Regions from separate parts of the Homo sapiens genome. Here regions 2, 3 and 4 are each linked to region 1. Evidence: promoter capture Hi-C in human tissues and cell types (Jung and others, 2019). All regions are on one chromosome and are shown on one strand. The core of a region is centred on a gene start or on the middle of the fragment in contact, and the rest is flanking DNA. Distances in the headings are between cores, read along the strand shown.

What was found. The method cuts DNA at HindIII sites, captures the fragments that hold promoters and counts their contacts. A contact is called where the count stands out against the background at its distance.
Region 2: a fragment that was not itself captured here is called in contact with the fragment with the promoter of EXOC3 in region 1 in 1 of the 25 tissues and cell types used here (dorsolateral prefrontal cortex).
Region 3: a fragment that was not itself captured here is called in contact with the fragment with the promoter of EXOC3 in region 1 in 1 of the 25 tissues and cell types used here (dorsolateral prefrontal cortex).
Region 4: a contact is called between a fragment that was not itself captured here and the fragment with the promoter of EXOC3 in region 1, in 3 of the 25 tissues and cell types used here (dorsolateral prefrontal cortex, pancreas and spleen).

The regions. Positions count from the first base shown.
Region 1 is chr5:440,540-447,966 of GRCh38, forward strand. EXOC3 (exocyst complex component 3) reads left to right here and starts at 2,637. Exons shown (of 13, transcript NM_007277.5): 1 at 2,637-2,751; 2 at 5,611-5,810; 3 at 6,994-7,213. The coding sequence starts at 5,667. It overlaps EXOC3-AS1 (EXOC3 antisense RNA 1), which reads right to left and starts at 2,621. Exons shown (of 1, transcript NR_126522.1): 1 at 1,296-2,621. LOC124900930 (a long non-coding RNA gene) reads left to right here and starts at 6,282. Exons shown (of 2, transcript XR_007058671.1): 1 at 6,282-6,669; 2 at 6,800-6,853. RefSeq lists enhancers at 1-128, 2,082-2,131, 2,152-2,261, 3,032-3,161, 3,212-3,301 and 3 more and a silencer at 2,342-2,731. The HindIII fragment of the contact is 5,164 bases long and covers 1-4,700 here.
Region 2 is chr5:660,120-667,546 of GRCh38, forward strand. It overlaps TPPP (tubulin polymerization promoting protein), which reads right to left. Exons shown (of 4, transcript NM_007030.3): 3 at 5,851-6,004; 4 at 1-5,177. The coding sequence ends at 4,983. It also overlaps a transcript of CEP72 not described here. Among named protein-coding and RNA genes, the nearest start is that of TPPP, 30 kb to the right of the region's middle. RefSeq lists enhancers at 2,294-2,463, 3,765-3,934, 5,352-5,521. The HindIII fragment of the contact is 4,891 bases long and covers 1,490-6,380 here.
Region 3 is chr5:223,771-227,979 of GRCh38, forward strand. It overlaps SDHA (succinate dehydrogenase complex flavoprotein subunit A), which reads left to right. Exons shown (of 15, transcript NM_004168.4): 3 at 590-751; 4 at 1,649-1,792; 5 at 2,113-2,277. Among named protein-coding and RNA genes, the nearest start is that of SDHA, 7.6 kb to the left of the region's middle. The HindIII fragment of the contact is 6,814 bases long and covers 1-4,209 here.
Region 4 is chr5:635,823-643,249 of GRCh38, forward strand. CEP72 (centrosomal protein 72) reads left to right here. Exons shown (of 12, transcript NM_018140.4): 7 at 1,695-1,996; 8 at 3,267-3,402; 9 at 4,586-4,782. Among named protein-coding and RNA genes, the nearest start is that of CEP72, 27 kb to the left of the region's middle. RefSeq lists enhancers at 1,255-1,424, 7,006-7,175, 7,235-7,427. The HindIII fragment of the contact is 9,549 bases long and covers 1-7,427 here.

The DNA.
Region 1 (7,427 bases), core at 1,387-3,886:
ATCTTCTCCTTGCCTGCAGTCTCTGTGCTGTTGCCTGCATTTTCTCTCTTCCTGTTTCTATTTCTGTAGTGGCTAACCTTAATGTGGGCATTTAACAAGGTCTAAGCAGGAGCTAAGCACGGTCTCTATTCTCCCAGAGCAGGGTCAGGACTGTGGGTGCTTCAGTGCCCTCCCCTCCCTCCCCCTCGAGTTTGCTCCTGTCAAGGTGGAGGAGGATCCCTCTAGCAATGACCCTGGGTTGGCTTCCGCCGAGGGCTGAGTTTAGGAACAGTCTCCAGGCTGTTGCTGTTTTCCTAGTCCACGCTTTCACTGAGGATGCATCCCTTGCACATCTGTGCTTCACATGGGAGTCGCCGTCCACCTCCCACCTGCTGGGAGCCTTAGCTTCATCATCTGTCCTGCTTCAGTGTAAAACCCAACCCCTGGGCCGCAGAACTCGCACCCTACCCACCCACCTGCCTGCTGTAGGACGGCAAGCATCTCTGCTTCTGATTCACGTCCTCTCCCCTTCCCACATTTGTCCCTGGTCACGTCCTTGCCTGTTCGTGAATCCACTTGTGCAATCGACATGATGCTTGCACTCAGCAGTGCTCCTGGGTGTTCGCAGAACATGGTCTGCCAAAAACAGAAGTCAAGAAACTTTTTTTTTTGAGACAGATTCTCCCTCTGTCACCCAGGCTGGAGTGTAGTGGTGCCATCTCAGTTCACTGCAACCTCCTCCTCCCGGGTTGAAGCCATTCTCCTGCCTCAGCCTCCCAGGGAGCTGAGATTACAGGCATGCACCACCATGCCTGGCTAATTTTTGTGGGGTTTTTTTTGGTAGAGATGGGGTTCCTACCAAAAAGACCATGTTGCCCAGGCTGGTCTCAAACTCCTGGGCTCAAGGGGTCTGCCCATCTCAGCCTCCCAAAGTGCTGGGATTACAGTTAGGAGCCACTGCGCCCAGCCAATAAATACCTTTTTTTTTTTTTTTTTTTTTTTTTTTTTTTTGAGACGGAGCCTCGCTCTGTTGCCCAGGCTGGAGTACAGTGGCGCGATCTTGGCTCACTGCAAGCTCCGCCTCCCGGGTTCACGCCATTCTCCTGCCTCAGCCTCCCGAGTAGCTGGGACTCCAGGGGCCCACCACCACACCTGCCTAGTTTTTTTGTATTTTTTTTAGTAGAGACGGGGTTTCACCATGTTAGCCAGGATGGTCTCGATCTCCTGACCTCATGATCTACCTGCCTCGCCTCCCAAAGTGCTGGGATTACAGGCGTGAGCCACGGCGCCCCGCCAAGAAAGACTTCTAATCAATGTTTTGTTAAGAAGTTACTAGACAGTCCTCCATCCAAATTCACTACCAGACACTGATATAATAGTATGAGTCTTTAGTTCATAATACTCAATGTTACTATATTTTTAAGAGTCCTAAAAGCTTTGGCAATTTTGGCAATTTTTTCTTCATTAGTTTCAAAATTTCTTTACAGTCATAATTTCTAACACAATTTTAACTTTTTTACTTTTTTTCATTGCTCAACTTGTTGCTAGATTTTCAGAAATTACAAGGAAAAACTGAAATAATAGAGCCGGGGTCAGTGTCAACATCAGCAGGGCACGGGGCAGGGCTCCCTGTCGGAGTGGCAGTGGGGGCTCCCGCAAGCTCCATCTCCTTCCTGTGTGCCCCTGCCCCATGCTGCTGCCACTTCCCTGGTCTCTGCTGGCTTCCCTGCCACCTTCCAGACCCTTCCTTTCGTGTGGCTAATTTTCAGGAGGGGCAGGGGCACAACCTAGCAGCTCCAACCTATGAAAGACTTTGTCAGTTGGTGTGTCAAAGCCAGCATCTTTTATCAAACAGACAAACCCTGAACGCTCGTGGTTTAGCACGTGCTTCTTCCTCCAGGCGAAGCCAAGTGCTGGCCATGGGCCTCTCCTCCAGGAAGCGACTCAGGACCGGCCCTCTGCAGCGCGGCCCAGTGACCCACATTCATTCTCCAAGACCTGCGCTGCTGGGCCTCTGAGGGGCCCCGGAAACATCCGGTGGCCACCCATCCCACTGGCATTGTTCCCACGAGGGTGCCAATGACTGCGCTCCTGGAGGGGCTGAGTTCGTCTTTGGGTCCAGGAGGTACCCAAAGCCGCTTGTCTGCTGGTGGCAGGTATGACAGACGTTTGATTCCCAACCTTCTCCGCTTTGGTTTCTTCGTTTACTGAATGCCCGGCGCCCACCTCAGTCCGCGGGAAACGAGGGACGCCCCTGCCACACTGCAGTGCGGACGACGAGGCCAACATAAAGACAGCAGGCATCAGCAGAGGATGGAGACAGCGGCTCTGGGGCTGTCTTCTCTCCGCAGGTTGGGAAGGGAAAGGAGAGAAAATGCACGCAGTCACGCTCGGCGGAGGCGTCCAGGACTGCGCCCGCCCTGGGGAAGGGCGCACGCGGTGGTCGCCAGGGGCAGCGAGAGGGCCTGAGTTGGGGGGGCTGGGACGGACAAGAAGCCCCCCACCTCGGCGGTTTCCCTGTCCTGCTGGGGAGCGGCCATGGGGCAGGTCCCCGAGCTGAAGTCGCTCGGCCGGGAGACGAGTACCCGCCCCGCGGGAGGGCCCGGACCCGTGCTTCCGGCGCCGTTGCCGGAAGCGGAAGTGCCCGCGCGCTGTCCACTTCCGGCCGGGACCCCGGAGGCGGAGGCAGCGAAGGCGGAGGGGGCGGCGGGGGCGGCGGCGGCGGCGGCGGCGGCGGCGGCGGCGGCGGCGGCGGCGGCGTAGCCGTAGAGGGTGAGTCGGTGGCAGGTCCTGACGGCCGGCGGGTCCTTGGGAGGTGGTCGCCGTCTTTCATCCTTGCTCTCCCTGTCTCTGGCTTCCGCGGGGGCGCGTAGGGGGAGGCCGGACCGGGACCTGGAGGGCGGGGAGGCCGTTCCGGACCCCGTGGAGTATCCCGCTCGTGCGAGTGTCCTCGGCGCAGGTGTCCTCCCCGGCACATGTGTCCCCCCCAGGCGTAGGTGTCCCCTTGGCACATGTGTCCCCACAGGCACAAGGTCCTTCCTGGTGCAGGTGTCCCCTTAACAGTGTCTTCCCCCACGCCCCAGGCGCTGGTGTCCTTCCTGGCACAGGTGTCCCCCCTCGGAGCAGGTGTCCCTCCTTGGGGCAGATGTCCCTCCAGGCACAAGTGTCCTTCCTGGCGCAGGTGTCCCCTCGGCGCAGGAGTTCTCCAAGGTGCAAGTGTCCCCTCAAGCACAGGTGTCCCTCCCAGGCACAAGTGTACTTCCTGGTGCAGGTGTCCTCTTGACGGTGTCCCCCCCCAGGCGCAGTTGTCCTTCCTGGCACAGGTGTCCCCCCTCGGACCAGGTGTCCCTCGTCGGAGCAGGTGTCCTTCTGGGCACAAGCGTCCTTCCTGGCCTTTAGGAAGCTTTCAAGGTGCAGGTGTCCTCCAAGGTGCAGGTGTCCTCCAGCGGAGTGTCCCCTCCGTGAGGTGCCTCCCAGCACAGGTGTTCCCCTCGGCGCAGGCGTCCCCCCGGTAAAGGGTCCCTCCTGGCAGAGGTGTCTGCCCGGCAGAGGTGTCTCCCTGGCGCAGGTGTCTCCGTGGGTGCTGATGTTCCCCGCAGTAGGGTGTCCCCCCGCTCGGCGGAGAGGCTCACAGCGGAGCCAGCGCCAGGGGAAGGCAGTCAGAAAGGCCCTGGTAGGGGCTGGACCTGGGTCTCTGTTTATGGTCTCTGAGTTCCTCTTTGGCTTCTGTGACCCAAAATCTTTAGTCTTCAGGCTGGGATGGAAGCCTCTGCGGTGCGTTTTTTAACTCCAGATTTTCCCCTTTTCCACATGAGTAGCTTTATTCTGACTCCAAGGCGAGCCCTGCTTCACAGCTCTCCACTCACATTGCCTTGGCTTCCACCCACAGCGTGACAGACTTCACTCCAGCCTTAAGATGGGCGCAGCCACCTCACCGCGTGCCCCAGCAGAGCGGCTGGGGGTCCACTTCTTGGGTTATTATCCAGCCCTATAATCAAAATCATACAGGCTTTAATGTCAATGGAAATGCTGATGATAATGTCCAAACAAAATAAGAAAACAAAAGTGTGCACCTACAAAGTCATATAAGCAGTGGAATCTTAGCTTTAAAAGAAACTCAAAGGGAAAAAACTGGAAGGAAACAAGCCCTGTTGGAGGGAGTTGCCCCTGAGTGTCGGGATTTAAGGGGAGTTGTCCCTGGGTGGCGGGATTTAAGGGGAGTTGCCCCTGAGTGGTGGGATATAGCGGGGGTTACCCCTGAGTGGTGGGATTTACGGGAAGTTGTCCCTGGATTGTGAGATTTAAGGGAAGTTGCCCCTGGGTAGCAAGATTTAAGAGGAGTTGCCCATAGATGATGGGATTTAAGGGGAGTTGCCTCTGGCATCTTTGTATTTTTGTCCTGTCCAGATTTTCTACGTTGGTATGCCAAATTTCATAATCAGAAAATAAAGAGAAAGGAAAGGTTGCAATGTAGGTCCAGATGAAAAAGGAGAAGAGAGGTGTCTGAAAGCATGTGGGCATGGAGAATGAAAAATTCCAGGAGAAGGTGAATCTTTTTAATATTCATGAAGATGAAAATCAGACAGCTGAAGTCAAGGGGAACAGGTGTATCGGATTCCCTCATTGACTGATGCTCACCAAGCAGCTGTGTTAGCTCCCCGAGGAGGACGATGGTGGAGGGAGCATGGAAGGCAGGCTTGCCTGGCATCTGAGCACCTGTGGTCTGCACGGGGCCTGCATAAAGGAGGGAAGCATGATGTTTTCTAGGACAGTTAAAAAAGGGGGAAATGGGGTTTTGGATACCCAAGACAATAATGACTTTTTCTTTTTTTTTCTTTTTTTTTTTTTTGAGACGGAGTCTCGCTCTGTCGCCCAGGCTGGAGTGCAGTGGCGCGATCTCGGCTGACTGCAAGCTCCGCCTCCGGGGTTCACGCCAGTCTCCTGCCTCAGCCTCCCGAGTAGCTGGGACTACAGGCACCCACCAACATGCCCAGCTAATTTTTTTGTGTGTATTTTTAGTAGATACAGGGTTTCACCATGTTAGCCAGGATGGTCTCGATCTCCTGACCTCGTGATCCACCCGCCTCGGCCTGCCAAAGTGCTGGGATTACAGGCGTGAGCCACCGGGCCTGGCTGACTATTGTCACTTTTATAGGGTGGGAATTGTGGGGCTTGTGCTGGGCCTCCAGCTGTGGTACCTGGTCGGGGGAGTTGTCCACGCTGTATTTGTCTTCACTGAGGGTCCTGGTGCAGCTGCCCACAGGCCTGGCCAAGGTGCTGGGGGAAAGCTCCCGAAATGAGAAACCAGCCCTGTCTTGGGGAGAGATGTGCCTTTGAGGCTGACATCTACATGCTGGGTGGTCTGGGACCCACATCTAGAATCTTCGCAATGTCCATGTCTCTCATGCCTGTGAAACGCCCCTGCTCTCCCCTTAAAGGTATAACTTCTGCATGTTTGTGTTACGAAGGTTTGTTTATCTTATCAAGGAGTTCCTCATCCTAGTTCAGCTTTCTTTGAGGTTTCCTGGATTAATGATCTCAGAGGCTCTGCTTGTAGCTCCACTGTGATCACCTGATAGTTTGGGGGAGGTTTTGTACCTAACATTTCTACCGTCCTAACAACTCCTGCAGTGCACAGAGAACACCCCTAGCATGAACAGTGTGAGGATTCCACCAGCTTTTTCACCATGAAGGAGACAGACCGGGAGGCCGTTGCGACAGCAGTGCAAAGGGTTGCTGGGATGCTCCAGCGCCCGGACCAGCTGGACAAGGTGGAGCAGTATCGCAGGAGAGAAGCGCGGAAGAAGGCCTCCGTGGAGGCCAGATTGAAGGTGAGGCCACCTGCCCCACTCCCAGGATCTGTCTTGGGCTTCAGGTTCTTGCTTGACATCACCATGATGATTTTGCTAAACTAGCCTTTATGGTAATGTGCAAGGAGGCAGAGCTGGACTTTCTTGAGCAGTTACTTTCAGCAGTGTATTACCACTCAGTAGCTTTGCTTAGAAGACAGTGGGAATGGTGAAAACACCAAAGGAACAAGCTTTTAAACACCCTGAGGCCGGGTGCGGTGACTCATGCCTGTAATCCCAGCACCTCGGGGAGGCCGAGGCAGGCGGATCACCTGAGGTCAGGAGTTCAAGACCAGCCTGGTCAACATGGTGAAACCCTGTCTCTATGAAAATACAAAAATTAGCCAGGCATGATGGTTGACGCCTGTAATCCCAGCTACTTGGGAGGCTGAGGCAAGAGAATCGCTTGAACCCAGGAGGCAGAGGTTGCGGTGAGCCGAGATGGTGCCATTGCATTCCAGCCTGGGCAACAGAGTGAGACTCTGTCTCAAAAAGAAAAAAAAAACACAGAAACAAAAACAACACCCTGAAAGTGTCTATTAAGTTTTTAAACAATACTGGAGGAAGGAGAAGTAGTCTTATTTAAAGCTCTTCTACAGAGCACCACTAGAGGGCATTTTGTTCAGATTGTTTTAACTCACATTTGACAGAGAGCGGATCTGAAGCTCAGGTGCCGATTCTGTCCTGTGGGTCAGCCGTCCTGGGGCCAAGTGTGGTGCTGGCTGAACAGCAGGAACTCCCCCACCCCAAGCCAGTGAAGTCCTGACCGTTCTCTCTGCCTAGACAAGACCTTTTAGGAACCTAGGATGCCTGGGAGAGCATGGGTGACATCCTTCTGAAGGTACCGTAGCAGGCCACGGCCCAGGGCAGACCCGTGGTAGTGTCCAGGATCACCAGGTGTGAGGCTAGATGAGGAGTGTCCTGACCTTTTCTCATCAAGGCTTTAAAATGCATCATTGTTCTGTTCCCAGGCAGCAATGAAGAAAAAGGTACACTGTGAATCAATTAAATCCTTGTTGATTTTATTTTCTTTTCTGGGTATTGACTGTTTCCTGCTACTCAGTGGCTCTTTCCTGAACTTGACCCTCCTGGGGAAGATTTGTTCTTCAGGAGGCAGCGCATGGCTATCATTGGCTCTGCTCACCCGTGTGGCGTCTCTCTTTAGGCCGCCATCCAGTCACAGTTGGACGGGGTGCGCACAGGCCTCAGCCAGCTCCACAACGCCCTGAATGACGTCAAAGACATCCAGCAGTCGCTGGCAGACGTCAGCAAGGACTGGAGGCAGAGCATCAACACCATTGAGAGCCTCAAGGACGTCAAAGACGCCGTGGTGCAGCACAGCCAGCTCGCCGCAGCCGTGGAGAACCTCAAGAACATCTTCTCAGGTACCAGCCAGACGCCGAGGCACTTGCCCCCACTCACGCTGTCTTTGCATGACTCACTGAGTGCTCTGTGTGCAGTGTGCTTTGCAGCCCGCACTGTAGACCTGTAGACGGTAAGTGTGATTCTTGTCTGCTCAGCGTCTTTTTTTGAACGTGGATGGAAGTGATCAGCTGAGCATGTAAAGGCTAGGAGAAGGCTTGTAGTTCAGTGTCAGGA
Region 2 (7,427 bases), core at 2,685-5,184, 220 kb after region 1:
GACGTGGACATCACCCGTCACACTGATAAAGTGATGCACTCAGTACTCCCTAATGTTAATCACACAGTGTAAAAATATATTGCACATATATATATATATATATATATATAAATTTGTTTCCCTTTCTTGAAAAAAACTTAGTACAAACTAGTAGTTACACGATCCCTTTCAAGTTTCTCTTAAGTTGTGCAGATTTCCTTTGTGGTTTGGCTTGGTTTAGTTTTTTAAGAGGTCGAAAGAAAGAAGTAAAGCATCTCGATGTGCCCAGGACTCCCCATCACATGCCCAGGGACAAACGCTGCACCCTGGACCACCAGAGCTCACAAAGTGTTCAGTAGTAAGAGGAGGAAAGATGCAGGTTCAGTGTTTGAAGGACGTTCTAGCCTATTGATAACATCACGGTCCAGCCTCATCTTCCCCCTGTGCCATCCCCTCGTGGTGTGTGCTGTGGGGTGGGAGGGTGGCCAGTGCACGCGTGATTGCCCACAGGAGGAGATGAGCTGGGCCAGTAGAGGGACAGGTAAGTGTCCAGGGCCAAGGCATCTCCATCTCAACTCCTCCCCACTCCACTTGTACAGCAGGAGCCACAGGCCTGTGTGAAAACACAGGACAGGCCCTGTGCCAACAAAACACCATTCACAAAAGCAGGCGGCCGCAGCAGCCCAGGATGGGGGCTGGGGTAGGAGGTGATGCCCACGCAGGGCTGCTGTGGTCAGCCCTGAGCTGGCATCCCTGGGGCCCGGGATGGAGTGGCACCAACAGGCAAGTGGGGCGGCCACAGGACATGATGCCAGCCCAACTCCACCATCTGCGCCCAAACTTGGACAGGATATTAGAAGGTGTAAAAGTAGTCCAGTATAAATATATATCTTCTACAATATTTTAAACATATAATTTGAACTTTAATTTTGGTAACGCTAATTGTTAGGAACACTACCTGGTTGCTTATCCTATAGCAGTAAATTAAAAATAAATAAGCACTCTGGCGTGAACAGTCTTCTCAGCGCTCTCCCTCTGCCTTTCTCCTTTCCTGATGCTGAGACACGATCAGCACTGTCCTCCCGACAGAACCTATTCCTGTGTCCTGGTGTCACCCCCAACAGAACCTGTCCCTCTCTCCTGGTGTCACCCCTGACAGAACCTGTCCCTCTCTCCTGGTGTCACCCCCGACAGAACCTGTCCCTGTCTCCTCTTGTCACCCCCAACAGAACCTGTCCCTCTCTCCTGGTGTCACCCATGATAGAACCTGTCCCTGTGTCCTCGTGTCACCCATGACAGAACCTGTCCCTGTGTCCTGGTGTCACCCCCGACAGAACCTGTCCCTGTGTCCTGGTGTCACCCCTGACAGAACCTGTCCCTCTCTCCTGGTTTGCAGGTTGTGCAGTTTGTTATTCACAAATACACATTTATTTTCTGTTGAACCGTGGTTAGTAGAAGCTAATTGGCAGTGCATAAAAACATGCAGAAGAGAACACACACCTGCCTGAATTCACAATATTCAGAAACTGACTGAGGAAGATGCACGGGTCTGTTATGTGCAGTGGGGCTGCCGTCCAAACAATGTTCTGTGTTCGGAGGCGGCACACAGATGCAATTACGGATTCCACAGACAAGTTGTAACTGACAGTGGTGACCACTATGTCCTCGTGACTTTATTTTTGCTACCCCTCCTGGCTAGGTGACAGAGATGGGAGCCGAGTGGGTGTTTTCAAAGATTCGCTTTGGAGCTGAGTGGAGAAGGGTGCTCTCCTGGCTCCCGCATGTCTGAGAAAAGCCTGAGGGCCGCTGGGGGAGGGCGTGCCTCTAACTCGTGGGCACCAACCCTGGAAGTGTGGAGGGAGAGTGGGGGCGTGGGGCCTCTCCCTCCAGGATCCCAGGGTGCTCCAGGCCAGGACGGGCAGGGTGCCACAGCAGCCTCGATCTCATTCACGAAACCCACAGGCGTGGCCTAGGGTTTGGGATGCACGCCACGATTTTCTCTCTCAGAGTGAAGGGACCACTTCTGTGAATGAGCTCACCTCCAGGGGCCAAGATGGGAGCCATGAGCCCCGCCGCTCCGGCCACTCCAGCCAGGTCTGGGAAGGGCTGTGGTGAGTCGGTGCTGGCCGTGTGGGCGAGGTGACCCGTCGGTGACAGGGCCTGCTCCCTGCGAGGTCGGGTGGTGCCCGGGCCGGGCGGAGGCTCTTCTCGTGCTCAGGGCCGGTTTCTGGTGTGCTCCCGATGCGCTTGGCTCTTTTCTCGAGGCCGTGCTTGTCTGAGGCCAACCAGGGACCAGGAGGCAGCGTCCTGGTGCCCAGCACCTCTCCTCAGTGTCCCTCGTCCCCACAGACCGGATCAGGGCCTGGCGAGCCTCTGTGCCTGCCGTGCGGTGTGAGGACCCGCGGACCCCAACCCGCCCTTCCCTCCGTCCTGACCCGGCGCCAGGCTCAGCTCCAGGGCGAGGTCCTCTGGAGTCATGTTCGTTCTGCGTGGCTTGGCCGTGACTGTGGGGACTGGGCTGCCCACGGACAGAAAGGAGAAACGCAGCCTGTGACCAGGAGACGCAGCCCAGGGTGGAGCCGCGCTGGGGCCAGGGAGGCCGAGGAGGGCAGGAGTCCGAGGGTGTAAGGGTGCCAGGGCCTTCCGGGTCTCAGGCTTCGGGACCTGGGGAGCCACCCTGTTTGGTGACCACTCGTCCTCGGCCTTTTCAACACAAGGGCTTTGGAGTTGTGATGGGCTGTTATCGGGTGATTCCGGTGGCCACTCGTCTGTGATCGGGTGATTCCGATGACTGCTCGTCTGTGATCGGGCGATTCTGGTGACCGCTCGTCTGTGATCGGGTGAGTCCGATGACTGCTCGTCTGTGATCGGGTGATTCCGATGACTGCTCGTCTGTGATCGGGCGAGTCTGGTGACCGCTCGTCTGTGATCGGGTGAGTCCGATGACTGCTCGTCTGTGATCGGGTGATTCCGATGACTGCTTGTCTGTGATTGGGCGATTCCGGTGGCCGCTCGTCTGTGATCGGGCGATTCCGGTGACCGCTCGTCTGTGATCGGGTGAGTCCGATGACTGCTCGTCTGTGACCGGGCGATTCCGGTGACCGCTCGTCTGTGATCGGGTGATTCCGAACCGCACATTCAGAGTTGTTTTCAAATGTTTCCGCACGTTAGTTCTGCCTTTCACACGCGGTCCAGCCAGGTTCAGCGGGGGCACAGGGCTGGGCTTGGGCACCCCCCGCCTTCCCCAGGCCGGTGAGGTGACATCCTAAAGGAGCCACGAAGCCTGAGGTCCATTTTTCCTTGCTCTTTATTTCCAGGCACTGAACTTCCCAGCCCTGCCGTGGAAGCTGCCTGCCAGGTCCTCCCCATCCTCAGGTGGAGGCTTCTCTGTTGAGGGGCCTCGGAGACCGCCCCCCAGCCCTCAGCGGACCATGCTGGCTGGGAGCTCCGCCCTGGGGCTTCTGCTCTGCTCAGGTAGGGGGAGTCCTTCCACGGAGCTGTGGCCGCAGCAGGTGCACTCTTGGGAGTCGGGGAGGCGGGTGGTGCTCATGCGTGCCAGTGAGGGAGGGGCCTCGCCACCCTCCTGTACTGTGAGCCTGGCCCTGGGCAGCCCTCTGCCCTGGCCAGAGCCTGACCGTAGCCACGGGCTAACAGGCTCTGGAAAAGTTTCCCCAGGACTGCCGCAGGCTCATCCGCAGGTAGACTCCAGAACCACGGCCCAGCAGGTCACACGTGTGGCTGTGGCTGTGTGCGTGCCAAGGGACAGTGGCAGTGTGCCATTGTGACAGCGGGTGGCCACACCCGTCAGCCTCCCCAGGAGGGAGCAGGAGCGCCGGCTTCTCCCCAGGTGCAGACAGGCAAGGGCGGGCCGCCTGGGTGTGTCCTGGCAGTGTGGAGTGTCCTGGATGGGCTCTGCTCAGCCCCCTGCTGGCAGAGAAACCCCCACAGACACTGCAGGACTGGGGGTCCTCCCTAGTGTCCTGCTCTCCGGCGGGGGGGATTGGCCAGGAGAGGTTAGGCTGAGCCATTTTGGGAGAGTTGAAGAAGGTGCTTGGGCTGTGGCAATGGGAGGTCTGCGAGCAAACAGGGTGCAGCTAGTGAGGACGGGCGAACGGGAGGGCCGGGCAGAGGCTCTGTCACGCGGTGAGGCGAGGAGTGTCTCGGCACTTCGTGTCTCTTGCCTGGCAACACCACAGGGACCGGACATTCTGAATCTTCCCAGACCCGCTCTGAGAACATAGGCAGCCACCGCATCTTCTCAGGAAAGCAAAGCGAGCCTACTCTACCCTCACAGTCCAAGCCACTGTGGTCAGCCGGGAAGCCGCCCACTGCCCCTGACGGCTTTCGTTTTACCTAGGTTGCCCTTGGCACAGAGCTGGCCTGTAGGCATGTGTGCACAGGTGTGTCCATGTGACCGGCTTCCCCACACATGTGCCAGGCGCCCAGCACCCCCGCCAGGTGGCCTCACTCTGCCCTCTGCCCAGGAAAGCAGGAAGGCCCCGTGGTGTCCGCTGCACACAGGACAGGCCTCGGGCCCCACAGACACCTCCCACGTCCGGTGTGGGGCCAATTCCGTGTTAGTTGCCTGCTGGTTGGGGTTAGCTCCTGCCACCCTCAGGGCTCCTGGAAGGTGTCTGCCGCTCAGGAGGTCAGCACAGCCTCCTGTTGCCATGACAGCCAGCTGCTTTAAAACGCCCCTTTGACCTGCAAACCACGTGCCCAGTGTGGTGTGATCCGCGAGACACTTTGGAAATGGCTGAGGACGAGGCAGGTGTATTAGGAGGGTCAGCGAACTGGGGCCCAAACCTGGTTTGAGAGGGGAGTGCTGGGGGCATCCGGTAGGAGGAGGGGCAGGAGGGAGGCCTGGGCCTGGCCGCCCCCCAGCCCCCTCTGGGGCACCCGTCTGAGTTCTGCCCCAGTTAGTACAGGAATGTAATGAAGTGCGAGGTGACAGAGTCCCTGCTCTGGGGACACCGGCAGTGCCGCGAGGCATGGAGCGGGGGCTACTTGCCCCCTTGCACCTTCTGGTCGTAGGTGCCTGCGTGCTTGTAGCCGGACACATAGCCTGACTCGTCCACCAGATCCACGCGGCCAGCCTTGCCCTTGCCCTTGCCAGAGGGGTCGAAGCGCTCCTTGTGGGAGCCCGTGAACTTGGTGGTGTCCGTGAGCCTCGACACTGTGGGCGACGAGATGGCTTTCTGCAAGAGGAGCAGGAGGAAGGGGGCAGGTGAGTTGCGAGCCAGGTGAGGCCAGCAAGTGAAATGGCTGTGCCCTGGGCAGGTCTCCCAGCGGTGGGGCACTGGGCAAGGGGCATAAACCCTGGGATTTATGCCCCTTTTAATTCTTATTTTTACCTCTCCTGACCCTGGGGCAGCCTTGGGCCTGCGGGGTGCCACAACCCTAACAATTGCCCAGGTCCACCTGGTGTTTATGTAGTTGGGGACCCCACCACCTGCACCCTCAGAGGGAAGGGGCTGTCAGAACAGCCAGGCCCCACCCTCCAGGCTATGCCCCCCCAATCCATGCCCCTTCAGACCAAGCCTCCCCAGGACCCCCCCAGGCCACGCCGACCTGGCCATGCCTCCCAGGACCCACCCACCCCCTCCCAGGCCAACTCCCAGTCCATGCCCTTCCTGACCACGCCTCCCCAGGCCTCACCCTCCAGGCTATGCCCCATTCATGCCCCTTCTGACCACACCTCCTCAGACCCCACACCAGGCCACGCCCTCCTGACCACGCCTCCCAGGACCCCCCCCAGGTCACGCCCCCAATCCATGTCCCTCCTGACCACCCCTCCCCCAGGCACCACCCACCTTCCAGGCCCCGCCCCCACCCCCTCCAGGCCCCGCCTTCCATCCCCGCCCTGCTCACCGTCACCCCTGAGATGATGGGCGCCTTGCCCTCGATGAGCCTGTGCACCTCGCGAACGGCCTCCTCGCTGCTCTTGTCTTTGAATCGCTTCTTGGCGAGCTCCTCCAGCGCCTCCTGGAACTGCTCAAAGGTGATGGTCCGGCAAGACTTCCCTCTACAGGGGCACAGGCGACTTAGGGCTGGGCGCGGGCCGGCCCAGGGCTGCCCTCCCCACGCGTGGGTCTGAGCAGAGCTGGACAGCCATGGCCCAGCAGCCCACAGGCTTCACCCACAGGCGGCCGCCCTGGTAGCACTGCAAATCCAAACTGTCTTGGAAGAAAGCTTGGCGGAAGCAGGTCCTCTATAAAGCTGGATGCTCACACGGCCCTGCAGGCCGCTCTGACACAGGGTGTGTGCGGGTCTGCACTCTGCTGGGGCAGTGCCGGAGGCCATTAGGCAGCGGAGCCCACCTCCTCCTCCCGGGGCCACCACAGCCCCGCCCAGCTGCGCCGGGAGCTGGGGGTCCTAGGACCTGCTGGGGCCCCGGCTCTGCCTGTGTGTGTTGGGGTCCTAGGTGGAGGTGTCCCCCACACAGGAACATGGTTAGGAGGGGCTGCCGCCCCCGGACACTTGGCAGCATGGGCGCAGGCCCACGCCTCAGATGCCCTGGCTCCAAAACCCGCCAGGCGGCCCCGCTGTGCCCTTGCACTGCTCTGGCCTCAGAGGTGCAGAGCCCGGTGGGCCGGAGGTGCCATGAGAAGCTTCTGGTCACACAACACGCCACATCTAAACACAGTCCACGCCTTACAACATCCTCCCACCACAGGCCATTCAGGCAATTTTAGAGGGTTCTAAACTGACTCTTGGTTTTTATATAATAATTCTAATTAGAAAACATTTTTCTCCTCTGACCAGATCTACCACAACTAACCCAAAGTGGGGTTTTTCAGTGTTTAAAACAAGAGATCCTGTGGATGAGGCTCAGCTCTGCAAAAGGCACCTGCATTTCACCAGGGAAGCCTCTGGACAGCGCGAGAAAGGCTGCACCCAGCAGGCCAAGCATTCCGAGGGCACTCCCAGCTGCAGAATCCACAGTGACCAAGAGTCAGGGGACAAATGACCCATAAAACCCCAGCAAGCCTTTCCAGAAGTCAGTGAGCAGAGGGCCTAGAATAGCCAAAACGATTTCAAGAAATGAGAACAGAGTCAGAAGACTGACTACCCAACTCCAAAGCTCATCGAGGCTTGACTGCAAAGTGGCAGCGACGTGGGCACGGGCACGCGGCCAGCCCCGCAGCCCAGGGGGAGTCTGGCTCAGCCACATGCATGCTGCCCCCCCGATGTCTACAGGTGCAGAGGCAAGCCAGAGAGAAAGGACTGTTTCTTCCACAAGTGGAGCTGGAGCAACTGGTGATCCCTGTGCAAATTAAAATGCACTTTGGTCTATACTGCACACTATATACAAAACTAACTCAAAATAGATGACGGTCCTAATTATGAAACTAAAACTTCTAGAAGAACACCAAAGAGAAGATCTCTGTGACCTGGGGTTAGGCGAAGATTTCTTAGAAATGGCAACAAAACATGGCCTATAGTGG
Region 3 (4,209 bases), core at 1,174-3,673, 220 kb before region 1:
ATCTGTTATGTATCTATAAACTAGATTTAAATTTAGATCAAGTAAAGCAATAAATTAAAATAAAATGAACAGTGTCTGCTGTGATAGATGATAAAATTCCTACTGAAAATAGGACGGTGGGGCCAGTGAACAGTATCTGCTGTGATAGATGATAAAATCCTACTGAAAATAGGATGGTGGGGCCCCTCGGGTGTGGGTTGCTTTGTATTTAGTGAGCCTATCTCTGTTGAAAAACTGAAACTTGCTGAGAAGTTGTTTTCTTATAAGCCCACAATAGCGACTGAATACTCCTTGGCACCTTCTCAGGCATAAGCATAGGCACGGCCCTGAAGTAGAGTTGTGGTCCTCAGTCTGACCCCATGGGATAGACCCTCTACCATTCGTAGAATCTGATTGTCAGTCCCTTCTCCAGGTGCGAATGTGCCCACCTCTCCCCGAACTGTTCAGGGCTCAGCCCCAGGACAGGATGGAGGCCCTGTGTGCCCAGCAGTTGCTCCTTTTATCTTTGTCAAGCTCTTTCACTGTCACAAGATTCTTCATGTTTGGCATAGTGGAACATGTGATTGACAGGTGAATTTTTCTTTTCCAGATTTCTGCTCAGTATCCAGTAGTGGATCATGAATTTGATGCAGTGGTGGTAGGCGCTGGAGGGGCAGGCTTGCGAGCTGCATTTGGCCTTTCTGAGGCAGGGTTTAATACAGCATGTGTTACCAAGCTGTTTCCTACCAGGTCACACACTGTTGCAGCACAGGTAAGAGAAAGGTGCCCCACTGTGCTCCCACTCCGTGCAGGTCCCGCGCAGCCTCGCACTTTCTACCTGGGCAGCCCCCTGCCTCCTCCCCCTGCTCCAGCCACATGGCCTCTTGCTGTGCCTTACTCAGCTCACCCTCTCAGGGGTCTCTCCCTGGAGCCTCTTCCCTGGGGACTTTGAAGGGCGGGAGACTTGTTGTCACTCCTAATTCAGACTCCAGTCACACTTGGGTTTTCTCTGACCATCTTGCCTACTACCTTCCCCACCTACCCCCGCCACCCCAACACCTTAAGAAAAGGAGATCACCTAAAGAGGAGGAATCAGAATTTAGGTTGGGGAAGAAAAGGGCAAGGGTTTCATTTGTCCCTGTGCTTCTGTCTTCTGGGACTCTCTGAGGGGTAAGACAGTGGTGGGCACACACAGCCAAAGGAAGCTGGGGTACAGGGGAGTGCGACTCTGAGTGTGGAGTTTATTACTTGGCAGGAAGCACTTCTAGTCTTTAACACATGCCCGTAAATGCCATTGGGAAGATTTGTTAATAAAATTATCTGGAAAGATTTGTTGAGTACCTTTTCTGTGCCAGATAGGTTAGGTTATAAGCATATTACAGGTAGCCTTTCACTCACTGCTCCAGTCAGCCCTTCCTGGAGTTCCCTGTGTCTCCACCACGCAGATGAGGAGACTGAGGCTAAGGATGGAATCACTGGGCGAGTCGGGGAGGGGTTGTGATCTGGAATCTGTCGGGTCTCGCTGCTCCTCTGCTGAGGTCAGCCCTCACTGGGAGTCACTGTGTGAGTAGTTGGCTTTCTCTGAATCCCCCCAGCGGGTGGATTTGGGCCTGGAAGACAAAGTTGGCGCTCCTGTTTGTGGCTTGTAAGGAGTGGTTGGTGTTTCCAGGGAGGAATCAATGCTGCTCTGGGGAACATGGAGGAGGACAACTGGAGGTGGCATTTCTACGACACCGTGAAGGGCTCCGACTGGCTGGGGGACCAGGATGCCATCCACTACATGACGGAGCAGGCCCCCGCCGCCGTGGTCGAGGTGATGGGCGGGAGGCTCTGGGTGTTCTCGTGGTCTGTTTCTAGTACAAAAGAATCCTGGAAAAAAATGTAAGCAATTGAGGCGGATGTGGCAGCCAAAAGAATGGTGATGAGCAAAGTTCACAAGAAGAGTCTTTTTCCGTTATGAACTATGCATTATATGTAACAAGAAAACTTCTCTTTGATGAAGTGTTGACATTTTCATAAAATAGGTTACTTTGGGTTTGCAGATTTGTGTTAAACTTGTTTAGTGTAGATTAGCTGCGAATATCTTGACTCCTTTAAGGTGTTAAGGTTTTTGTTTGTTTTTATCTTTCACAGCTAGAAAATTATGGCATGCCGTTTAGCAGAACTGAAGATGGGAAGATTTATCAGCGTGCATTTGGTGGACAGAGCCTCAAGTTTGGAAAGGGCGGGCAGGCCCATCGGTGCTGCTGTGTGGCTGATCGGACTGGCCACTCGCTATTGCACACCTTATATGGAAGGGTAAGGCCGCCCCCGTCCACCTGAGACAGGACACGTAGTGCTGGGGCTTATGGTGACAGTGGGGAATGGGTTAGCGTGCCCAGTGAGTCAGCCAGAGATTACGTAAAAAGCAACAGAGAACAGCAGCGTGGGGCGCATGCAGCGACTGTGGATGTGACAGGACCAGACGTGTGCCTTGAGGAGCTGTCCCTAAGGCAGTGTGTGACTTCTTGCATCTATGTCAGAAAGTTGAATCGATAATCTTACATACCAGGTTTTAACTTGGGATATGTGACACTCAACATACAAGAGCAGAGCAAGCAGGCCAGGCACAGTGGCTCAGGTCTGTAATCCCAGCACTTTAGGAGGCCAAGGCAGGAGGATCACTTGAGACCAGAAGTTTGAGACCAGCCTGGACAACATAGCAAGACCCTGTCTCTACAAAAAGTTTAAAAATTAGCTGGGCATGGTGGTACATGCTTGTAATCCCAGTTACTCAGGAGGCTGAGGCTCCTGGATCACTTGAGACCAGGAGGTTGAGGCTACAGTGAGCCATGTTCGTACCACTGCACTCCAGCCTGGGCAACAGGAGACCCTGTCTCAAAAAAAGAGAAAGAACAGGCTGGGTGCGGTGGCTCACGCCTGTAATCCCAGCACTTTGTGAGGCCTAGGCGGGCAGATCACAAGGTCAGGAGTTTGAGGCCATCTTGCCTAACACTGTGAAACCCCGTCTCTACTAAAAATACAAAAAAATTAGCCAGGCATGGTGGCAGGCACCTGTAGTCCCAGCTGCTTGGGAGGCTGAGGCAGGAGAATGGCGTGAACCCAGGAGGCGGAACTTGCAGTGAGCCGAGATCGCACCCCTGCACTCCAGCCTGGGCAACAGAATGAGACTCCATCTCAAAAAAAAAAAAAAAAAAAGAACAAGTATTTTAAGTCTCTTTTACCACCTCTGAGTTCCTGAATGGATTGGTTTTGTTTGTTTTGTTTTGTTTTGTTTTTGAGACGGAGTCTCACTCTGTCACCCAGGCTGGAGTGCAGTAGCACAATCTCAGCTCACTGCTACTTCCACCTCCTGGATTCAAGTGATTCTCCTGCCTCAGCCTCCCGAGTAGCTGGGACTACAGGCGCACGCCACCATGCCTGGCTAATTTTTTGTATTTTAGTAGAGACAGGGTTTCCCATGTTGCCCAGGCTGGTCCCGAACTCCTGAGCTCAGGCAGTCCACCTGCCTTGGCCTCCGAAAGTGCTGGGATTGCAGGCGTGAGCCACCGCACCCGGCCATGGATTGTTTTAATATTAACTGTTAACACTGAAGAAAGACTTGAGGTGACAATAGTTACTGGGTAATCAGAGTCAACTTTGGCATGGCCAAATAATATTCTGAACGGTATTGATTCAGAGTAATCAATATTCTGAACTTTGTTGTTTTCTGATGCATGGGGACGGATCGTTAATTTGCAGGTTGTTAGAACACCAGTGACTTCTCTGTGGCTGAGTGCATCGACAAGTGTGTGGTGGGAGGAGACCGCGGCTCCATCTGGAGCAGGAGCTGTCATGTGGGGAGCTGGCCCAGGCTTACAAGAGCGACTTGTGCTGGCTGAGGGAACGGCAGGTCCAGGCGGGCAGCGCTGTCCGGCGCCTACCTTTCTGCGGTGCCGGAATCTGCTCGTCTGCAACCGTCCGCTTTGGTAGCTGCCAGCCACATGGGGCTGTTGCTAATGTGGCAGGTGTAGCTGAAGAGCTGAATGTTTTGACTTATTTTAATTAATTAAGTGGTTATGTGTTGCCAGTAGCTCCCATCTGGGCTGTGACTGCATGGTCTGCGGACCTCACTCTGGCACCAGACTCCGAGTGGAGCTGCATGCGGCCACCGGACAGTGTGGAGTGCCTCTTCGGGTTGTGTAGAAGTAGGAAATGTGTCACCAAAATAGGAGCTGTTGCTGCTGCGTT
Region 4 (7,427 bases), core at 3,182-5,681, 200 kb after region 1:
TGCGCTACAGCATTCCTGCCTCCCTGCGGGCTGGCCCTGTGACCTGTTCCAGACTCATCCTTTATCAGGAACCCAGCCCTGCGATACAGCATTCCCGCCTCCCTGAGGGTTGGCCCTGTGACCTGTTCCAGACTCATCCTTTATCAGGAACCCAGCCCTGTGCTACAGCATTCCTGCCTCCCTGAGGGCTGGCCCTGTGACCTGTTCACCTCTTAAAGGCCCTCCGCTTAATACTGTTAGAGTGGCAATAAGTTTCCAGCTTAGGAACTTTGGGGGGTTCCTTCGAACTACAGCAACATGAAATCCCTGTCAACTTTTACTCCCTTCAGTTCCTTTTTAAGTAGTTAAATATTTTTCACATCGTTTGCTTTTACTATGAAATTTCTCCTGTTCTCTGTGTATTTATTTGTTTGTGGAACTCTCCAAAATGTCTTTGGAAAGAATGCAGCACATTGAAATTTATAATCCATTCATGGTTTAGATTCATGGTTGGTAAATAAGTGCTTTTTCTCTGCACGTGTGTGTGTGCACACCCTCCCTCACCCTCTCACTAATGCACACACACTTTTAAGTGTATGGGCCCAGGTTATGGCAATAGCTACATTTTGAAAATCAAAGGCGAGAAAAGTTAACCAAGAGTGTCACGTGATACCATGTGATGGCCACCTATGTGGCATAAGTATCAGAAAACCTCCTGCCGTGAGCAGGCCAGACACGGTGGCTCACGCCTATAATCCCAATATTTTGGGAGGCCGAGGCAGGCGGATCATTTGAGGTCAGGAGTTTAAGACCAGCCTGGCCAACATGGTGAAACCAGGTCTCTACTAAATATACAAAAATATCTGGGCATGGTGGCGGGCACCTATAGTCCCAGCTACTCAGGAGGCTGAGGCATGAGAATCGCTTGAACCTGGGAGGTGGAGGTTGCAATGAGCCTAGATGGCATCACTACACTCCAGCCTGGGCAATAGAGCAAGACTCCAACTCAAAAAAAAAAAAAAAAAAGAAAAAGAGAAACCTTGTCTCGCGTGACCCTGGCGCCTCCTGGAAGCTTGCTCATGCCCAACTGGTGAGAGGCAGGGGACCTAGCCAGGTTGTCTGTCAGCCGCTGCAGGATGTGATGGGTCATCTTGAGTTGAGCAGGCTGTGGTGGAGGCCAAGGCTGTGCCCGTTTTGTGCCTTCTCCTGCCTTCATTGTCCTTCCACAGACAAGTTTGCCTTCCCCCGGGTCTTGTGTGTCCTGGGGGCTTAGTGGTCGGTACAGTGCACGGGACCCACCACTTTACGGACCATCAGAGTCTGTCACTTCACCTGTCTTCAGAGATGGGCGTGTGCTTAGACGTTGTTTGGAACGCGTTGTTGAAGCGTACTGCACGTCGGTCATCACGGGGTGAACACGCGAAGCTGGGCGGTCCGTGTCTGCTTCATCCAGACTCCCCCAGAGTTTGCGTGTTAGCACGTGTGCCCCAGTATGCCCCTTTCTTCCCTCGGCACCCTCCCTCTGCATGTGCCTTTGTGCAGGTGTATGGATGTATGTATGCACGTGGATAGGTGTGCGTGTACATATGTAAGTGTGCGTGTGTGTCCATGTGTGTATATACATGGGCACACACATGCCTTTTAAAAGTTACAGTGCTGAACACTGCACCCAGAGAATTTGGCCTGACGTGCGCCCCATCCTCTCTATATCTCAGACTCCATGGATACCGAGGACTCGGCCTCTTCTCAGAAGTTGGATTTGTCAGGAGAAATGGTGCCTGGTCCCCTGCCAGCCCCCGGAAAGTGCAGGAAGCGAAGAATGCCTGTTGGAAGATTCCAGACGTTTTCGGACCAGGAGGGTTTGGGCTGCCCGGAGAGAACTCATGGGTCCTCCGTGCCCAAGGAGAGCCTGAGCAGACAGGACAGCTCAGAAAGCAGGAACGGGAGGACCTTGTCTCAGCCTGAGGCCTCGGAGACTGAGGAGCAGAGGTCTCGGGGTGTGACCGACACCAGAGAGGTGAGAGAAGGGCTGGGGAGCAGCAGGCCCACGGCACTGCCTCCCTAATGTGGGGCTGTTACGGCTTTGGCGGGGCCGTGATTACGCCTGCGGCACTGACTGTGTCCCTCCCTGATGCAGGGCTGTTACGGCGGTGCCGTGATTACGCCTACGGCACTGACCGTGTCCCTCCCTGATGCGGGGCTGTTACGGCTTTGGCGGTGCCGTGATTACGCCTACGGCACTGACCGTGTCCCAGGATAAAGGGAATCATCACACTTAGGGTTCCAGGGTGCTTGCTGCTGCGTTTTGTTGGACGTGTGCCTCTGTGCCACACGCTGTCCTGCGCTGCTGTTCTGAGTGGAAGCCCCGTGGTGGAGAGAGGGGACTCTGCCTTACGGTGCACAGGGCATTTGTCTCCAAAGCTGGAATCGGGCATCTTGGCCGGCTGAGCCATTGATGACCCTTTCGTGAGGGGAGGATCCTGGAGGTCGCTGTGATGAGAGACCGAGTCACTCCACCCTCAGGGTGACCTAGAGGTCAGGGGGACAACTGGCGCAGGCCCAGTCAGAGGCGTTGAGACACACCTGCTGTAGACATGAGTGCAGACCACCCAGAAGGGAACAGGCAGGGGCTGTTCACTTGGTACTTGCCACAACGAGGGCTTCAGACTCCCATGCAGGCAGAGGAGCTTGAAGGTGCGGAACTGTGGGACAGGAAGGGAGGCATGGCCGGAGCTAGAGGCAGCTCCGTAGCAGCATGGGGTGGGGGGGGGTCCCAGAGCTGGGTGGGGCGTGTTTGACGTCCCCGGCAGGTCCTGAGCTGGAAGGAGGCAGAGATGGGGGAGGTGGGCGGTCTGTTTCAGGGTTATTGTTTGACTCCGGGCCATTGCTGGGGACAGCGCCTGGCACCCTCTACCAGCCTGACTGTGGGTGCAGGCTGCTTCCTGGGCAGCTCCTTTTGAACACAGGCTCTGACTGCGGCCTGGATGTGTCTTCCGCTTCCCTGTCTGGGTTGAGGGGAGGAGTCTGGGGCCTGCTTGAGTTGGGAATGTGTGGGCCCCGTCCTGTCCTGTCATCGAGACCTCACTCATCCAGGACCGGTGCACCTGGCTAAGCCTCACTGGGCAGGCACTGCTGAGCCGCCCTCCACCTGGCTCAGGGCTGGGGCCTCAGGGCACCTGTCCTCCCCTTCGTGGTGCGAGGGCATCCCAGGGTGCGCTTGGGCACCTGCTGGCATTCAGGACCTCAGTTACTGACTCGCTGGCCTCATGCTGTTGTTTCCATCACAGCCGTCTCCCGGGTCACACTCGGCTCTACCCGGGAAGAAGACGGCCCTGCAGGCGGCGCTCCTGGAGACGCTCTTGGACCTGGTGGACAGGAGCTGGGGCGGCTGCAGGTCCCTGCACAGCAACGAGGCATTCCTTGGTGAGTCAGGGCGGCCACTGCTCTTGCCCTGTAGGCAGCGTCTGTGTGGGTTCCGGGGTCCTCTGCGTGTGGTGACCTAGGAGTCATCTCAGCCCCAGGTCTCCTATGTCCCCTCCCACGAGCGTGTGGTGGTCCCGCGCCTGGGCCCTCCCTGGCAGTCTTTGCATCTCACAGTGTCCAGGGCTCTCGGGAGACACCACATGGGCCTGGGCCTGTGGGTCCCCCGCTGTGCTCTGGGGTGTTGGGGGGCCTGTCACCTCATTTTGCTCAAAATGCTGTCCAAAGGGGCTTGGTTCTGATGGCTGTGATCACATGGGGATTTGGAGTTTGGAAGCTGCTCAGCATCTTCTCCCCCGACCCAGACGTGTAGCCTGTGCTGGGCCTGGATTGCAGAGCTTTTGGTTGGTGTGGGACCCAGGAGGGTGGTCCCTCCCCAGAGAGGACTTGGGTCTGTTGGATTCTACCAGGCAACCCGTACATGAGCACACTGGGGCCTCCCTCATCCAGGATCACACTGGGAGACCAGGAGATGCCGCGTCCCCAGGGGCACCTTCTCTTTGTCCTGCATCCTGGGGTGTGGCTGTGTGTGTCCCTCAGGAGCCTAGCCAGTGTGCTTCTCCCCGCAGACCCTGGGCACGGCTCTGAGCTGTCTGACTGCGCCTTGCAGTGTTATAGCCCCTCAGCTCCTAGAATGAGGACGCCCTGCAGTCGCAGCCCACCTGGACCCCAGCCCCATAAACCTCCCCTCTCCCTAGGCTGGTGTCCTGTGGGAGCCTCCTGAGCTTGCCATCGTCGGTGGCGGGGGGACTGTCCCAGGCCCAGGCCACTGTCCCAGTGTGGAGTTGCCAGCTGTCGTCTGCATGGTGGTTTCCACACAGGGCAGTCGGTGCTTGTGGAAGGCGCAGCGAGTTGTGGCGGCGCCACTGAAACCTTGAGACGTGGCGGCCCCTGGTTGCCCCTTTTCTTGGAGGTCACCTCTTCTCTTTCTTCAGTTCCCACCCTGCCCGTGTGTGGACGCACAGAGCCTGAGGTGGTTTTGTGGCGCCAACACCCCTTTCCCCTCTCCCTACCTGTCGTCTTTTTGAGGCATCGTCTGTGTGATTCAAAACATACTGAGCCGATTTTGTTTACATTTCATCCTTTAAGCCTAAGTGCTAATGTAATATTTGGTTTTCACTCCTAGCTCAGGCAAGACACATCTTGTCATCTGTTGAAGAATTCACAGCAGCTCAGGACAGCTCTGCGATGGTGGGTGAAGATGTCGGCTCCCTGGCTCTGGAGAGTAAGTCCCTGCAAAGCCGCCTTGCTGAGCAGCAGCAGCAGCACGCCCGGGAGATGAGCGAGGTGACGGCGGAGCTGCACCACACACACAAGGAGCTGGTGAGCCCGCCCTGGCGCTGTGTCTGTGTCCATGTGACTGGGGGAAACATGGCTCTGACTTCCAGGAACGAGGGCAGCTCCTTGATGCCACACTGTCCCAACTGCCATCTCTGCAGCCCCATGTCTCCACTCCCTGCCCGGGACCCGGCCACCCCCGGAACGCGGCCTGCCCTGTCTCACAACAGGCCTGGAGCACTTTGGAGACAGCAGTGGCGCTGGCCACCTTCTCTCCCCGGGCCCAAGGGACCCTCCACCACTGGGCAGTGCCGGGTGCTGCAGGAGCCAGGCCTGGACGTGACTTTGTCTTGCTGACCCATCTCTCAGGGCCTCGAACTGGGGAAAACCGAGGCCACTCTCCTTTTATGAAGGAGATGACGGCCAGTGTCCCATGGTGAGCTGGGGCTACAGGGCAAGTTACCCCAAAACCAGCAGCTGAAAACCTGCATTTATCACCTTGGATTTCTGTGTATTGGGCCTCAGGCTCAGCTCAGCCAGGCTCCCTCCTTCCGTCTCAGCCGTGGGCCGGGGCCGCCGTCTCATCTGAGGCCTCATGGGGGCTCTGTCTCAGCCGTGGGCTGGGGCCACCGTCTCATCTGAGGCCTCACGGGACAGGATCCTCCCAGGCTCCCTCCACGCTGCAAGGGCCTCCCCACGGGCTGCTGGCATCCTTAGCACAGGGAGCTGGTGGTCAGAGAGCCACACCCAGGCAGAAGCCGCCCTCCGGGAGTCCTGGTGTGAGGGCAGAGCCACGTGAGGATGTGCACATCCAGAGGGGCCTTGTCAGCATCTTTAAATTGCGAGTGAAGTCGGCCCGGGACGGCTTCGAAAACTGCCTCTGAACTTGTCTGACAAGTACATACTGTCCGTTTCATGGGAACCAACATCTCAGAGATCCCACACAACGCTTCCTCTTTAGAGAAGAAAAACACAGCAAAACAACACAGGCAGCCTCTGTTTAAACGCACGTGGCCCCCCCACCCCGCCTGGAAGCCTCTGCACGTGGCCTTCATCTGGAAGCCTCTGTATTTAAACACATGTGGGCCTCCTCCATCTGGAAGCCTCTGTATTTAAACACACGTGGGTCCCCATCCCCCGTCCAGAAGTCTCTGCATTTAAACACACATGGCCCCCCATCCCCCATCCAGAAGCCTGTGCATTTAAGCACACGTGGTCCCCCGTCTAGAAGCCTGTGCATTTAAGCACACGTGGTCCCCGGTCCAGAAGCCTCTGCATTTAAGCACACGTGGTCCCCCGTCCAGAAGCCTGTGCATTTAAACACACGTGGTCCCCCGTCCAGAAGCCTGTGCATTTAAACACACGTGGTCCCCCGTCCAGAAGCCTCTGCATTTGAACACACGTGGTCCCCCGTCTAGAAGCCTGTGCATTTAAGCACACGTGGTCCCCCGTCTAGAAGCCTGTGCATTTAAACACACGTGGTCCCCCGTCTAGAAGCCTCTGCATTTAAGCACACGTGGTCCCCCGTCCAGAAGCCTGTGCATTTAAACACACGTGGTCCCCCGTCCAGAAGCCTCTGCATTTGAACACACGTGGTCCCCCGTCTAGAAGCCTCTGCATTTAAACACACGTGGTCCCCCATCTAGAAGCCTCTGCATTTAAGCACACGTGGTCCCCCGTCCAGAAGCCTCTGCTTTTAAACCAACGTGGCCCCTCCTCTGGAAGCCTCTGTATTTAAACACACATGGCCCCTCATCTGGTGGAAGCCTCTGGATTTAAGCACACATGGCCCCTTCTCTGGAAGCCTCTATATTTAAACACGTGTGGCCCCCCGTCTGGAAGCCTTTATACTGAAACACACGTGACCGGCTGTCTGGAAAGTGAGCTGGGCGCCGTCACTGATGATGTCTTTTCTGTGGGACACAGTCAGGCACACCCCTTGCCCTTCTGAGCCTGGGACGAGACAGAGCTGACAGGCGGAGCCCAAAGGTGTGCCGAGCACCAGTGCTGCCAGGGGTGAGAGTCACATGCAGCTGTGGCTGCCGTGGACGCCTGCTTTTTTGCCCTCTGCAGTTTGCCTAACCCCTGCAGTTTGCAGGCAGCCCTGGGCCTCTGGACAGAGCAGCCCTGGTTCCCTGTCAGGGTGAGTGATCCAGAAGAATCTGGCAGCCCGAGCCCCGCGGGTAAGGAGCAGTCAGCACCGTCAGGAACCCCGCGGAGGGAGCAGCCGTGCAGGCTGGTGGGCACTGCTTTCCAGGGAGGCCCACATCTGTCACTCCAGAAGCACCCAAGTTTACTCTGCCACGTGAGGACGCTCATCCCTCGGTCACATGAACCTAGACCTTGCTTCCTTTGGAAGCTGCAGTCGGGTGTCCTGAGGCAAGGTGGCCCCACTTCCAGCTGCTGTGCCTGGCACGGCCTCTGAGGCAGATGGGCTGCGCCCAGCTTGGGTGCAGTCGGTCCTCTGTTCCCTGCACCTGTCGTGGCCTAGACTCCAAAAAATAAAAAATTAGGTGTGGTGGCACACTCCTGTCATCCCAGCTATTTTGGGAGGTAGAGGCAGGAGGCTCAGGAGTTGGGGGCTGCAGTGAGCTGTGATTGCTCCACTGCCCTCTAGTTTGTGCGACAGAGGGAGACTTTGCCTCAAAGAAACAAATGAAAAAGAGCTGGGAGCTCACAGCCCTGCCTTA